Linked DNA regions of Homo sapiens: all the other regions are linked to region 1. Evidence: promoter capture Hi-C in 16 types of primary human blood cells and fetal thymus (Javierre and others, 2016). All regions are on one chromosome and are shown on one strand. The core of a region is centred on a gene start or on the middle of the fragment in contact, and the rest is flanking DNA. Distances in the headings are between cores, read along the strand shown.

Region 1 (4,451 bases), core at 754-3,253:
GGCCCATCTTTCCTGACACCCGGGTCTCTCCTGGCCGCCGCCACTAGCGCTGGGCTCCTCGGCGCGCGGGGCGCTTGGAATCCAAGGGGCAGGGGATGTGGCCGGCGGGGAACAGGGGTGAGGGGCGGGGAACAGGGGTGAGGGGCGCCGCCCCAGGCCCAGGAGGAGGGGAACGGCTGCTTTCCGCCAAGCAGGGCTTGCCACCCACTTCTCCTGTGGAGCCACGGTCCCGCCCGGCAGAGGATCCCGCGGAGAGCCTCTGGGGGCTGCTCTCCCAACCCCAGCCGGAGTTTGGGCCCCACGTCCTTCCAGGGGTCACCCAGGACGCGAACACTCCCGGGCGGCGGCCAGCACCCTGCTCCCTCCCCCGGCCGCCGCCTGTGGGCTCGGGCTCTGGATCCCGTTCGGTGTTTGGAAGGAGCTCGCGGGCGTCGGTGCGCTTGGAGTTGTTCTCTGCGCGCACCAGACCTGCGCTAGGTCAGGCCGAAGCTCTCTACCGGCCAGCGACACCCGCCGCCCCGCCCGCCTGCTCCTCCTAGGCCATCGGGGCTTCCAGGGCCCTCGACCACGTACACCAGGCCCTGGCTAGGGGACCCGACATGCTGGGCGAGTTCCGAGCGGCTCTCAGTGGCGGCGCTGCTTATGGTCTGATGCTTATGGGGCCCGTGATCTGGCTCCGAACCGATGTCCTCTGCCCATGGTGACCCCCACGTCTTGGAAAGTCGCGTCAGTGAAGCCCGTGGCTTCGCGAGCGAGCCGGGCTGGCGCAGACTGGGTTCTCTGGCCGCAGCGGGTCCGCGCCTGACGGGGAGGGTCCGGCTGACTCGCACATCTTCATGGCTCACCCACTGTTTGCTGGGCGCACGGGGTGGGGACCCAAAGACGAATCCCATGCAGAGGTTTGGGTCTAGTTTTGGCAACAGAAAAGGCCGGCACCGCCGGAGTAGGACGCGCGCGCACCACCATCCATTCGGCCGGGGAGGTTGGGGCGTCCGCGGGGAGCAGACCCGAGGCTGGGCGCCCGGAGGTACGAGCAGGACCCTGGCCGGCTCTCAGCTCCCAGAACCCAGGGCCAGGCGGGGATGTCAGGGTCTGCGCGATCTGGGGGGCCCTAGAGGCGCCGGCGGGGCCTGGCGCGGACTACTAGCGGCCTGCGGGAGCCAGGGGTGGAGGGGGCCGCTGTCTAGGGAAGAGGACCGGGGTCCGGAGTGGGGGTGAGAACGAGGCACGCCCCTGAGCCTGCGAAACCTGCGGACCGAGCGCCCGCGCAGGAGCTCGCTCCCTCTGGGCCCCCAGGTCCCAGACCCGCACGATTCTTCGCCCGGTGCCAGCCCAGATGCGCGCGGGTGATGAACGGGCGGTGGCCGCGATCCACGCGCTCGCTCTGCCCAGTCAGCGGCAAATTCGTTCTCTCCTTGATCTCAGTGGCACTGGAGCGTGAGGCAAGGGCCAGGCGGCAGGTAGAGGGGTCGGACTCAGCAAAAGCAAACAAAACCCCAAGCAAACGAAATAAATACTTATACATTACATACACGATATAATATATGTGCGACAGACACCGTATTACTTATTAAAGATATATTTGTAGGTAAACATATATTTACATGTAAACATACATTTACATATAAATATAAATATATATATATGCATGTGTACACACACGCAGACACACAGGTCGCTCAATTAAATTTGAATTTCAGACTAGCGAGTAATTTTTCCGTATTAGCATGTCCCGTGCAATATTTGGGAACATACTTATAACTAGATTTGTTGTGAATCTGAAATTCAAATTTTACTGTGCTTTCTACATTTTTATCAGCAGCCCTAGCTGGAGGTGCTCAAAGGCCTCCCGGCCTTTGAGGTAAGGTTCTCGGGTCGGAAATCCCTGGTCGGAAGAAACGTGGGCGTTTCCTTTAAAGCCCTGCGGCACAAGAACTACAAGCCCCACAATGCCGCGCGGAAGCCGGCGGCGCTGATAGGCTGCAGTTCACTTCCGCCTTCTGACTTCCGGCCTCGGAGGCCGGCGTCGGCTGTTGCAGCCTGCTGCGCGCCCAGGGGTCCCGCGGGTTTTCGGGCGCAGGGTGGCGCCCGCGGCAGGCGGCGGCCATGAACTTCTCCGAGGTATTCAAGCTCTCCAGCTTACTCTGCAAGTTCTCCCCGGACGGCAAGTACCTGGTGAGCGGCGGGGACCTGGGCCACGGGCAGGACATCCTCGGTGCCAGCGTCCCCGGCGGGCAGGGCCGGGGGCGGCCGCGTGGGTGGAGGCAGCTTGGGGATCCTGCAGGTGCGGTGCCCGGACAGGTGCGGGGCCCGGGCAGGTACCCGGGGCAGGTGCAGTGTCTGAGCAAGTGCCCCAGACAGGTGCGGGACCCAGGAAGATACCCTAGACAGGTGGAGGGCCCGGGGAGGTGCCCCAAGCAGGTGCGGGGCCCAGGCAGGTACCCCAAGCAGGTGCGGGGCCCAGGCAGGTACCCCAAGCAGATATGGGGGCCGGACAGGTGCAGGACCCCGGCAGGTGCCCGGGCAGGTGCGGGACCCAGGAAGATACCGTAGACAGGTGGGGGGTCTGGGGAGGTGCCCTTGGAAAGGTGGGTATCGGCAGTGCCGACTGCACACAGGTGAGGGTATAGGAGATGTCGGCTCTTTGTTGTTACTTTGTCACAAAAGGCAAATTGATGATTCTGTTGCCTGTAAACTGGTAAGTGGTGTGGCTACTTTGTCATCTCTACTTCTCCTCTAATTCTCTTCTCCTCTACCACATGCCGAATAAATGATTTAAATACTAGTATTCTATCCCCAGGTAAGGAAGTAGTTGTCCTCATGGCTGGGATTTGAGGTCTTCGTTCCATGGGTGGCAGAAGGGTGCTTAAATCACAGAGCTATAACTTTAAGCTTCAAAACATATAGTGTATGTACCTGGATGCCTAGTAGTGTATATCCTCAGAAGAGAGGGATAACCCGGATGCCTAGTATGTATGTCCTCAGAAGAGGGGGACAATTGGCATTGGAAAGCCACTAAGAAGAAACATGCCTCGTAAAAAGTGGGCTTCGTTTTCCTTATCCACCACCTGTACTAACTGACTGATGTATCATGATGCTTTTTCAGGTTTTGCCACTCCTGACATTCCTGTGCTCTGTCTAGCTTTTGAGAGTTTAACTCTCAAATTACGTTTTTTACCTCTTCAGGGAGGTTTTATTCCAAATCACATAAAATAGCATCAGCTACAAAACAGAAAACCTCATTAGTTTAAATGGCATCTCAGCCTTGGTATATTTTCAATGTGCCCCCCTCCTCAATTAAATGAGAGGTTTGTTTTTTGTTTTTACCATTTATGAAAATTTCAGTGAATTATAAGGAGAAAGATTACATCTGCTTGCTTAACTTGGGTGTTTTTTTCCAGCTTGTACACTCTGGTCAAAATACCCTGAAACACTTGGTAATGATCTGTTACTGGAATCATCTTCTTGAAAGCCCTGAGGACTGGGGAGAGCAGGTCCATGTTTCTAGTTTTCATATCTTGCAGTAGAGTTTATGTGGTTCCTCAAGGTGTTGGTAAAAATATTCCATTTCATAAGGAATTCACTGTAACTGATCACAGTTTTCAAAGCTACAGTGTGAGAAAGTAAGTGCTGTGGTAGCTCCTTGTTCCAATCTGCCGTCACCCGCCTGTCTCTCTTTTCTCCCACGGAAAACTAACGTGGCTTTCTTTTTTGATATCGGTTCATAAAACACAAACTACTTTGACCTTGATAAGTAAAACTAACGAAGCAGTTAATATTTAAACATCAGTTCTTGATCTTGAAACTGTAGTAAAATATACATTCAGCAGGTGAGTACTCAGGCGTTATTTTTACTTGAAATTGTTTGCTTGGATAGGGACATAATGAACAAATATGGACAAGAAGAAACTATCTTTAAGAAAATAGTACTAACACTTAAACATTTCCCGTTTCGTGTTAGGAATAGGTTAATGGAGATAAATGAGCATTTGCGAAGCATCTTTATGTGTGCAGAAGTGAAAGCCTGTCTTTTGATCTTCTGTTGTTTTGGCTCTGAGTTCGGCACTGCATAAGAAGATTGATGCATTCCTTGCCATTTTCGTTGTCATCTGTGAAGCCTCAATTCTTACCCTTTATAAATTTGAGGAAATTGTCCAAAAGTGTTTATAAAACTAGCAGAGGATTTTGGTTATTAGTTCACAGAAGAGCTTTCTCCCAATGCTACTTCCCATTTAAGTTTAGTTTTTAACATACAGATAAGAAGGGACTTAAAAATGTCTTAAAGCTTTAAGTAGCGAGTTAAAACATACTTTTATACTTTACAATAGAGTATAGCAATATTAAAACCTGGCTTGTATATTTCAACATTACCCTTGTATGAACTGAACTGATCTTTAGGGGCTGGGGATGTCACTGGTGATCTAGACATGAAACCTCTGGCAGGAGAGAAG
Region 2 (4,147 bases), core at 254-2,753, 2.4 Mb after region 1:
CCTGGAGACCCAGGGTGGCTTGGGTCCTTGGGATGTGTGGGGACCTCGGGGTGAGGGCCCGTTGGGGCCGGGTGGGCACGGCAGGAGAGCGGGGGCCACACACCCAGAGGCAGTGCCGTGTCCCGGCTGGGAGGGTTCCTGGGAAGCTCTGCTCAGCCCCAGTCTCAGTCATTTCTAGAAACTGTGTTTTCCTCCCTGTGACGTCACACGTGAAGGAAACGGAAAAGGGCAGTGAGTCCTTCGCCCCGCGGCGCCGTGCGCACGTCAGCCTTCAGGGTGATTCCGCTCCTCCAGAGGGGCAGGCGCGGGTGTGGGGGGTGGGGCCCAGGCCCATCCTGAGGGGTCCCAGGCATGAGGGGCTCTGAGCTGTGTCCTGGGGTGGTCTGGGCCATGGGGAGGTTCTGGATCATGTCTTGAGAGGTCTGGGCTGTGTGGGGGGTCCAGGCCATGTCCTGGGGGTCTGGGCTGTGTCTGTGGGGAGTCAGGGCCATCCATGTATTGGGGGTCTGGGGCAGGGGGGGGTCCAGGCTGTCTTGGGGAGTCCGGGCTGTGTGGAGGGGTCCAAGCTATGCCTTTGGGGATCAGGCCTGTGGGAGGCTCTGGGTTATGTCTTGGCGGGGGTCCAGGCTGTGTCTTAGGGGCTGGGCCATGTTCTGGGGACGTGTGAATCCTGGAGGGTGGGGCCCCGGTCTCGCGGGTGGCTGTGTCCCTCGAGTTCAGGCAGCACCTCTCGGAACTTTCTGGATTTGCGTGCTGGCGTCTGTCGGCCTCGATACCCACAGGCTGCGCCCCTCTCAGCACAGGAAGTCCTGGAGAACCTGAAGGACCGCTGGTACCAGGCGGACAGCCCCCCTGCAGACCTGCTGCTGACGGAGGAGGAGTTCCTGTCGTTCCTCCACCCCGAGCACAGCCGGGGAATGCTCAGGTTCATGGTGAAGGAGATCGTCCGGGACCTGGGTGAGGCTGGGTCCAGCCTGGCCGGCACGCCAGGACCCAGGACCGACTGGCAGGGGCCGGGCATCGTCGGGAGGTCGGGGCAGGTCCTGCGGGAGCCCCAGCCTGGGTGTGGGCTGACCCATTCCCGTCTCGCAGACCAGGACGGTGACAAGCAGCTCTCTGTGCCCGAGTTCATCTCCCTGCCCGTGGGCACCGTGGAGAACCAGCAGGGCCAGGACATTGACGACAACTGGGTGAAAGACAGAAAAAAGGAGTTTGAGGAGCTCATTGACTCCAACCACGACGGCATCGTGACCGCCGAGGAGCTGGAGGTGAGCCCTGGCGCAGCCGTGTCCCGGAGCCGGCCCTGCGAGGTGCTGTGGCGGGAGGGGCTGGTGGATCTGGGCCTGAGGCAGGAAGCTGTGCTGGTGTCTGGCCTGAGACTCCATCTGGGCTGGTCACTGGGGCGTTTGCTCAGCGGTGTCCACCAGGCTGCATGGCCGTTGTTGGCGTTTAGGTTCAGACGGATCAGAGACAGGCGAGCCTGGCCGGGCTCCATCCTCAGCCCCTTGCGGAGGCGTCAGGGTTCTCACAGCCCCTTTTTAACGGGACCACAAGGGGAAGCTCATGCTGGGCCCAGCATGGAGGCAGGTCCAAGGCCCAGCAGGTGCAGGTGGGCGGGGCGGCCTGTGCCACATGGCTGGAATTTACCACCTTCCTCTGAAGCGTTTTCACTGGTATCATGTGTAGGCTTGTTTTTCTCCCACTGCTGAGTGAGTCATCTTGTTTTTATGTAGAATCCTGTGATTCCTGGCGACAGCCAGTGGGCCCGGCCCAGGTTAGGGATCCTTCAGAACTGGGGTCCAGGCCTGTGTAGCCCCTGTGCCCCGTTACCCCTGCTGGCCCCGGGCAGGCCTTCCGGGGCCCCCGGCTTCTCCCTGCCCTGTGTTTTCATTTGTGCCGCCTCCCTTCGGGAACCTTCCAGAACGTGCCCACACTCCCGCTGCAGCCAATAGGCACCTTAAATAGCCACTTCGTGCGGCTGGCCGCGGAGCTCGGAGGGGGAAAGGCGACGCTGACCTGTGCCCCGCTCGCCCGCAGAGCTACATGGACCCCATGAACGAGTACAACGCGCTGAACGAGGCCAAGCAGATGATCGCCGTCGCCGACGAGAACCAGAACCACCACCTGGAGCCCGAGGAGGTGCTCAAGTACAGCGAGTTCTTCACGGGCAGCAAGCTGGTGGACTACGCGCGCAGCGTGCACGAGGAGTTTTGAGCGCCCGGCCGCGCCCCGCGCCGCCCCCCACGCACCACCGGGGCGGCCTCGCGGGTGACTCCGGGCTCCGTGGCTGTCCCGGACCCCACCTCTTCCCTGCCGCCCGCCACCGGCCGACCGACCGCGGCTGCCCCAGTTGATGAGCGGCGTGTCCCCTCTGCAGCGCGCACCCCGGCGGGGCTTTGGCTGTGACGCGGTCGGGGCGCGGGGCTGGGCTGTGGCCCCGCGGCGCCGCCTCCTCCCTGGTCCCTCGAAATCGTGGCATCTCACTTCTGAGAACGAAATCTCGCTTCAGTCACTCTGCCGAAGGCGCTGACGGCATCGCGGCCGGAACCTCTGGGCCCGGCCCCTCCCAGGGCCGCCGCTCCGTGGGAAAAAACAGCTCCTCCATTTCCTTGAAAACTGAACGATTATTAAAAATAGATTAAACTTCGCTGGAAATGAGTAGCCAGGAAGTTCAGGGGAGGGTGCCGGGTCCTTCCCGGGCCTGGCGTGTCGGAGCCACCCAGGTCCCGCAGCTGCCGCTGAGAAAATGCAAATATTTGTTGTGACAAGAATCACATACATTTACTTTAAATATAGTTGCCTTTTTTGGTCAGCTTCATTCTTTGGGCGTGAAACAAAACACAACAGCAGCGTGCTAGGTTTGTGGTTACAGTTTCCACTGGAGCGCTGGAGGCTGGTGCTGGGTCACGTGGAGGGTTGGAGGTCATGGCCGGTTCGAGGTGATTCTCCTGGCAGGTGGCAACGGGCAGGGGCTCTGGGAGGACGGAGGGCAGCGCTGCGTTTGTGAGTAGGGGTCAGGGGGCAGCAGACGTGCCCACTGAGTTTGGGGTTTGGACATTTAAGGCAGGAGACAGAGCCGCCTGGGGGTTTTGGGTGGAGGATGGCAAGGTCTTTGGGTGCAGTGGGGCAGGCCTAGCCCCAGATGGGGCAGAGAATGGGGTGTGTTAGGACGGCTGGTGGGGGTCCTGCTCTGTGGCGTGTGGGGGCCCAGGCTGTGTCCTGGCTCTCCCAGTGGGAGCTCAGGGAAGCCGGGAGTGTGTCCTCTTCAGTCTGCCCTGTGGTGCCCATGTGACCGGCCTCTGCCCTGAGCCCACCTGCCCAGGGGCCCCTGTGGGGCCGAGAGGGCGGGTTGGCACCTGGGCTGGTTCCCAGGCAAACGAGATTCACAGAGCCACGGCCAGCGCAGGTGGTGGGAGGATGGTCCCACGCCCTGCTCTAAGGGGCTGTAATTCCCTGGAGCCAACCTTCGGTGGCCTGGACTCTGTCTTTCCCCATCCGTGGCCCCAGGCCACAGCCAGGGACCATCATAGCTGCAGCAGCATTCGACGCCCTGTGCTGAGGGCCGTGCACCCAGAGGTGGGAGGTGTGAGCTGAGGCCATGCTGTGCTGGACATGAAGGCGGGGGGACAGCTGGGTATGTGGTGGCACCTGGCCCTTCAGAGGCCCCAGCCAGCTCCAGTCTGGTACTGGAGGAGCAGTGGCCACTCATGGGCTGCCCTGTGCCGCCCGCGACACTACTGTGTGGAGCGGGGAGCCCAGCTCCTGGGGATGTGGTTCGAGCTGCAGGCTGCCTTACAGACCTTGGGGGTCCTGAGCTCTGGGTCAGTGTCCAGCCTCCTGTGGCCACGCCACACCCGGTTCCATGGACACAGCAGGGCTTTCTTGGACCTGTGACCTTAAGCCCAGGACAAGGAGACCTGAGCTTCCTGGGCAGCTTCAAGCAGGAGGGGCCGTGCCCCATCCTGGGGCCATTGCAGTTGCCAGCAATATGCTGGGGGTGCCCTCTCCATGGTGCACGGGCCCCACTCACTGCACCTGTGGGCAGATGTGGCCACTTAGGCCCCAGGAGAGCAGTGTTGCCCACCAAGACCCCCAGTTCACCTGAACCTCCAAGGAACCAATTGCAAATGTAAGCTTTTTCTCACTG
Region 3 (4,240 bases), core at 1,559-4,058, 3.0 Mb before region 1:
AATGGCAGGGATCTGCCCGCACCAGAGCTGAGGGTTCTGTGCTCAACTAAGAGAAGGGCAAAAAAGCCCGCGGTCGCTTCCGATTCCACGCTCGCAGCCTCCTCGCCAGCCAGCAGTCAGTCCAGGAACAGCTTCCGGGAGCCCGTCCGCGAGCGGTTGGAACGGCGGATGTCAAACTTGGAGTCCCGGCACTTTTGGCAGACAAACACTTCTGGAACATTGGATTTCCGGATTTTCGCACAGGACAGGTGAATCCAGGTGTGGCACTCATTACACTCGATCATGGGGCGGCCGGCAAATGGCTTCATGCAGAAGCAGGTCACGAGGTCCCAGGAATCGTCATCTGGAAGGAAAGATACTCTCAAGGAGGGAAGAGAAATTCCCATCATTCCTCGCCATCAGCTGGGCTTCCATGAAACCCATTAACTCTACTGACGAGAACACTTCCAACTGCCACTCGAAGCTGACACTTCTCTCTGAAAAGGCACGAGGGGCTCCAAAATGTGTGGGAACCAGGTATTACCCAGGAGATGCTTACTTTTTTTTTTTTTTCCCTAAGACAGGGTCTCACTCTGTCACCCTGGCTGGAGTGCAGTGGTGCAATCATACCTCACTGCAGCCTCAAACTCCTGCAGTCAAGCCATCCTCCCACCTCAGCCTCCCAAATAGCTGGGACTACAGGCACACACCACCACACTCGACTATTGTTTTTTTTTTTTTTCTTGAGACGGAGTTTTGCTGTCGCCCAGGCTGGAGTGCAATGGCGCGATCTTGGCTCACTGCAACCTCCACCTCCTGGGTTTAAGTAATTCTCCTACCTCAGCCTCCTGAGTAGCTGGAATTGCAGGCGCGCACCACCACGCCCAGCTAATTTTTTCTTTTTTTTTTTTGTATCTTTAGTAGAGTCGGGGTTTCACCATGTTGGTCAGGCTGGTCTCGAACTCCTGACCTCGTGATCTGCCTGCCTCGGCCTCCCAAAGTGCTGGGATTACAGGCATGAGCCACTGCGCCCAGCCTTTTTTTGTATTTTTGCAGTGACAGGGCTTTGCCATGCTGCCCAGGCTGGTCTCCAACTCCTGAGCTCAAGCAATCCACCTGCCTTGGCCTCCCAAAGTGCCGGGATTACTGGTGGAGCCACCGTGCCCGGCCTGGATGCTTACCTGGATGCTTACTTAGAACTATACCCTTTTTATGTTCTAAGGTCTTAGAATCTCAGCTGTCTCTAGTGGCAATCAACCCCTTCCTAAACATCTCGATATCCACATTCCTGCAGCTTTTCTCCTCCTTGGACAGTGGGGCTGTCACACTCTACGGAAGGCACCAGACCCTGTGCCCCAGAGAGATGACCACTTAATAAAATAACCTCTCTTCTAACCACAAGCCAACAAGGGTCATCATCCTTCAGGGACCACTCACCTGAGTCCACCATGATGTCCTCATCATTGCCAGTGCTGTCCTCATCTCGGAACACCACCTGCTTTCCCTGCCGGACGATAGTCCGTTTGCCTTCAGTTTTTATTTCTTTGACCTGATCAGGTGACACAGTGGCACAAGATCCACTCGAGGGAGTATCGGAGTCCCAGCCCGAGCAGGGGTCGCTGGGAGCCTGGGGGATATCCTGCAAGGTGGGACTCGTGGGGGTCTCCACGTAGGGGTCAGCGGCTTCCAGCTTCAGCAAGCCCCCCCTGTACCCCTCTTTCCCAGGCGCATCACTGTCCCTGCGCTTCCTCTTCTTCTTCTTCTTCAGCTTGTCCGTTTTCTTTCTGTCCAGCAGGAAGTTACTGGGCTTGGCTCGCTGCAAGAGAGTAGGCTGCAGGTGGCTAAAGCAGCGGTCAGAGACTGGCAAGGGCACTGAGGACGCGATGTCTGAGAAACCCGCGTCCCAGCCGTCGCTGTCAATGGTACCAGCAGTGCTGTTAGCAGGGCTGGGGCTGCTCCTTAAAGGGAGTTCCTAAAAAGACAAAGGTGGCAGATTCCAGTTACTGGTGACAAGATCCAGCCCAGAGCAGAGCATCCCCAGCCACCCAGCCATGTCAGACCTCCAGAGACATCTGCACAACTTTGAGCTTCTCTGCCCATCAGCATCACACTTGAAGCAACAGTAACATGAGTTCTGGCTGGGCGTGGTGGCTCACACCTGTAATCCCAGCACTCTGGGACGCCAAGGCAGGCGGATCACCTGAGACCAGGAGTTCAAGACCAACCTGGCCAACATGGTGAAACCCCATCTCTACTAAAAATACAAAAATTAGCTGGGCGTGGTGGTGGTGCCTGTAGTCCCAGCTACTTGGGAGGCTGAGGCAGGAGAATCGCTTGAACCCGGGAGGCAAATGTTGCAGTGAGCCACTGCACTCCAGCCTTGGTAACGGGAGGGAGATTCTGTGTCTCAAAAAAAAAAAAACCCAGTGCCATCAGTGCCATGAGTTTAATGTGATGCCACGAAGAGAGAAACTCCCTGCTGAACCCTCAGCCCCATCTTAGAGACAGAAAATTCATCAGTGTGCAACAGGTGTCTGTGGGAAGGAGTGCTGTGGACACCCACTCCTATCTGCTCATTGTTCCCTGATTGTAAAACCTCTCCTTCCATTTGCCCTCCCAAGAGATATATTGTTTTAAGTGAATTTAAATTAGTTTTGAGAATTTCCTGACACTCTTAAAAAACTAGACATTCCAAAATATTGCAGAATCCAAGTAGGTAATTACTGCCCCAAAGCAGTGAAGTAAACTCTATGGTTCATTCAGATCACAAGCATATCATTTGCAAACAGTGGCAACGTCCTCCTTGTCTTGCTAGAAAACAGGCATTAGGCTGGGTGCGGGGGCTCACACCTGTAATCCCAGCACTTTGGGAGGCTGAGGCGGGTAGATCACCTGAGCTCAGGAGTTCGACACCAGCCTGGCCAACATGGTGAAACCCCCTCTCTACCAAAAATACAAAAAAATTAGCTGTGCATGATGGCTGACACCTGTAATCCCAGCTACTTGGGAGGCTGAAGCAGGGAGAATTGCTTGAACCCAGGAGGCAGAAGTTGCAGTGAGCTGAGATCGCACCACCACACTCCAGCCTGAGCCACAGAGCAAGACTCCGTCTCAAAAAAAGAAAAAAAGAAAGAAAAGAAAGCAGGCATTAGCCACCTATGTAGCAGATGGAAATAAACCAATGCTGGCAGTTTGCCTGCTAGAAATATACTGAATGCAGCTGGGCACAGTGGCTCGTGCCTGTAAACCCAGCACTCTGGGAGACCAAGGCAGGAGCATCACTACCTCGAGACCAGCCTCAGCAACACAGTGAGACCTTGTCTCTACAAAAAATAAAATTACGGCCAAACGCAGTGGCTCACGCCTGTAATCCTAGCACTTTGGGAAGCCAAGGCAGGTGGGTCACTTGAGGCCAGGAGTTTGACACCAACCTGGGCAACATGGCGAAACCTTGTATCTACTAAAAATACAAAAATTAGGTGGGTGTGGTGGTGGGCCTGTAGTCCCAGCTACTTGGAAGGCTGAGGTGGGAGGATCACTTCAGCACAGGAGAAAGAGGCTGCAGTGAGCCAAGACTGTGCCACTGCACTCCAGCCTGGGCAACAGAGCAAGACCTGTCGCAAAAAAAAAAAAGCTGGATTGTTCAATTTTGAGCTTAATCGAATACGAAAGAGGCCTGAAGTCTGAGCACCACAGCCGCTCTCCTCCAGTCCTGCCCTGTTCTCAGCAAGTGAAAAAACCTCCTTCATCTACATCAAGTTGCAGCCATGAGTCCCTGAAGACAATCATACGCATTTCGGGCAGCCAGGGAGCTGAGACAGAGGCAGCGTGTGCACTGAGTCCAGCCATCTGGTTGAACCCCAAGCTCCACCACTAATCAGTGGGTGACCTAAGACAAAGTTTTCCCTCTCTATGCCTTAGTTTCCTCAGCTTATAAACTGGAGATAAAAAATAGCACCTACCTCATAGCATTACATAGGCCAAGAATAGTGTCCAGCTATGGTCAACAGTCAGTAACTACAGACCCTTATTAAAAGCAAGCAGACAGCCAGGTGCAGTGGCTCAACGCTTGTAATCCCAGCACTTTTGGGAGGCCGAGGCGGGTGGATCATGAGGTCAGGAGTTCGAGACCAGCCTCGACAACACGGTGAAACCCCGTCTCTAGTAAAAATACAAAAAACTAGCTGGGTGTGGTGGCGCGCCCAGCTACTCATGAGGCTGAGACAGGAGAATCGCTTGAACCCAGGAGGCAGAGGTTGCA

Evidence for each region. Contacts are between HindIII fragments. The CHiCAGO score rates a contact against its expected background, and 5 or more counts as called.
Region 2: a fragment that was not itself captured here is called in contact with the fragment with the promoter of WRAP73 in region 1 in 1 of 17 cell types (neutrophils); the score reaches 7.1 in neutrophils.
Region 3: a fragment that was not itself captured here is called in contact with the fragment with the promoter of WRAP73 in region 1 in 1 of 17 cell types (neutrophils); the score reaches 6.0 in neutrophils.

What each region holds. Positions count from the first base shown.
Region 1 is chr1:3,647,655-3,652,105 of GRCh38, reverse strand. WRAP73 (WD repeat containing, antisense to TP73) reads left to right here and starts at 2,003. Exons shown (of 12, transcript NM_017818.4): 1 at 2,003-2,175. The coding sequence starts at 2,107. RefSeq lists an enhancer at 939-1,782. The HindIII fragment of the contact is 11,564 bases long and covers 1-2,894 here.
Region 2 is chr1:1,215,579-1,219,725 of GRCh38, reverse strand. SDF4 (stromal cell derived factor 4) reads left to right here. Exons shown (of 7, transcript NM_016176.6): 5 at 799-957; 6 at 1,093-1,268; 7 at 2,038-2,795. The coding sequence ends at 2,214. Among named protein-coding and RNA genes, the nearest start is that of TNFRSF4, 3.5 kb to the right of the region's middle. The HindIII fragment of the contact is 5,266 bases long and covers 1-4,136 here.
Region 3 is chr1:6,617,514-6,621,753 of GRCh38, reverse strand. It overlaps PHF13 (PHD finger protein 13), which reads right to left. Exons shown (of 4, transcript NM_153812.3): 3 at 1,417-1,951; 4 at 1-343. The coding sequence ends at 117. Among named protein-coding and RNA genes, the nearest start is that of THAP3, 5.2 kb to the left of the region's middle. The HindIII fragment of the contact is 6,226 bases long and covers 1-4,240 here.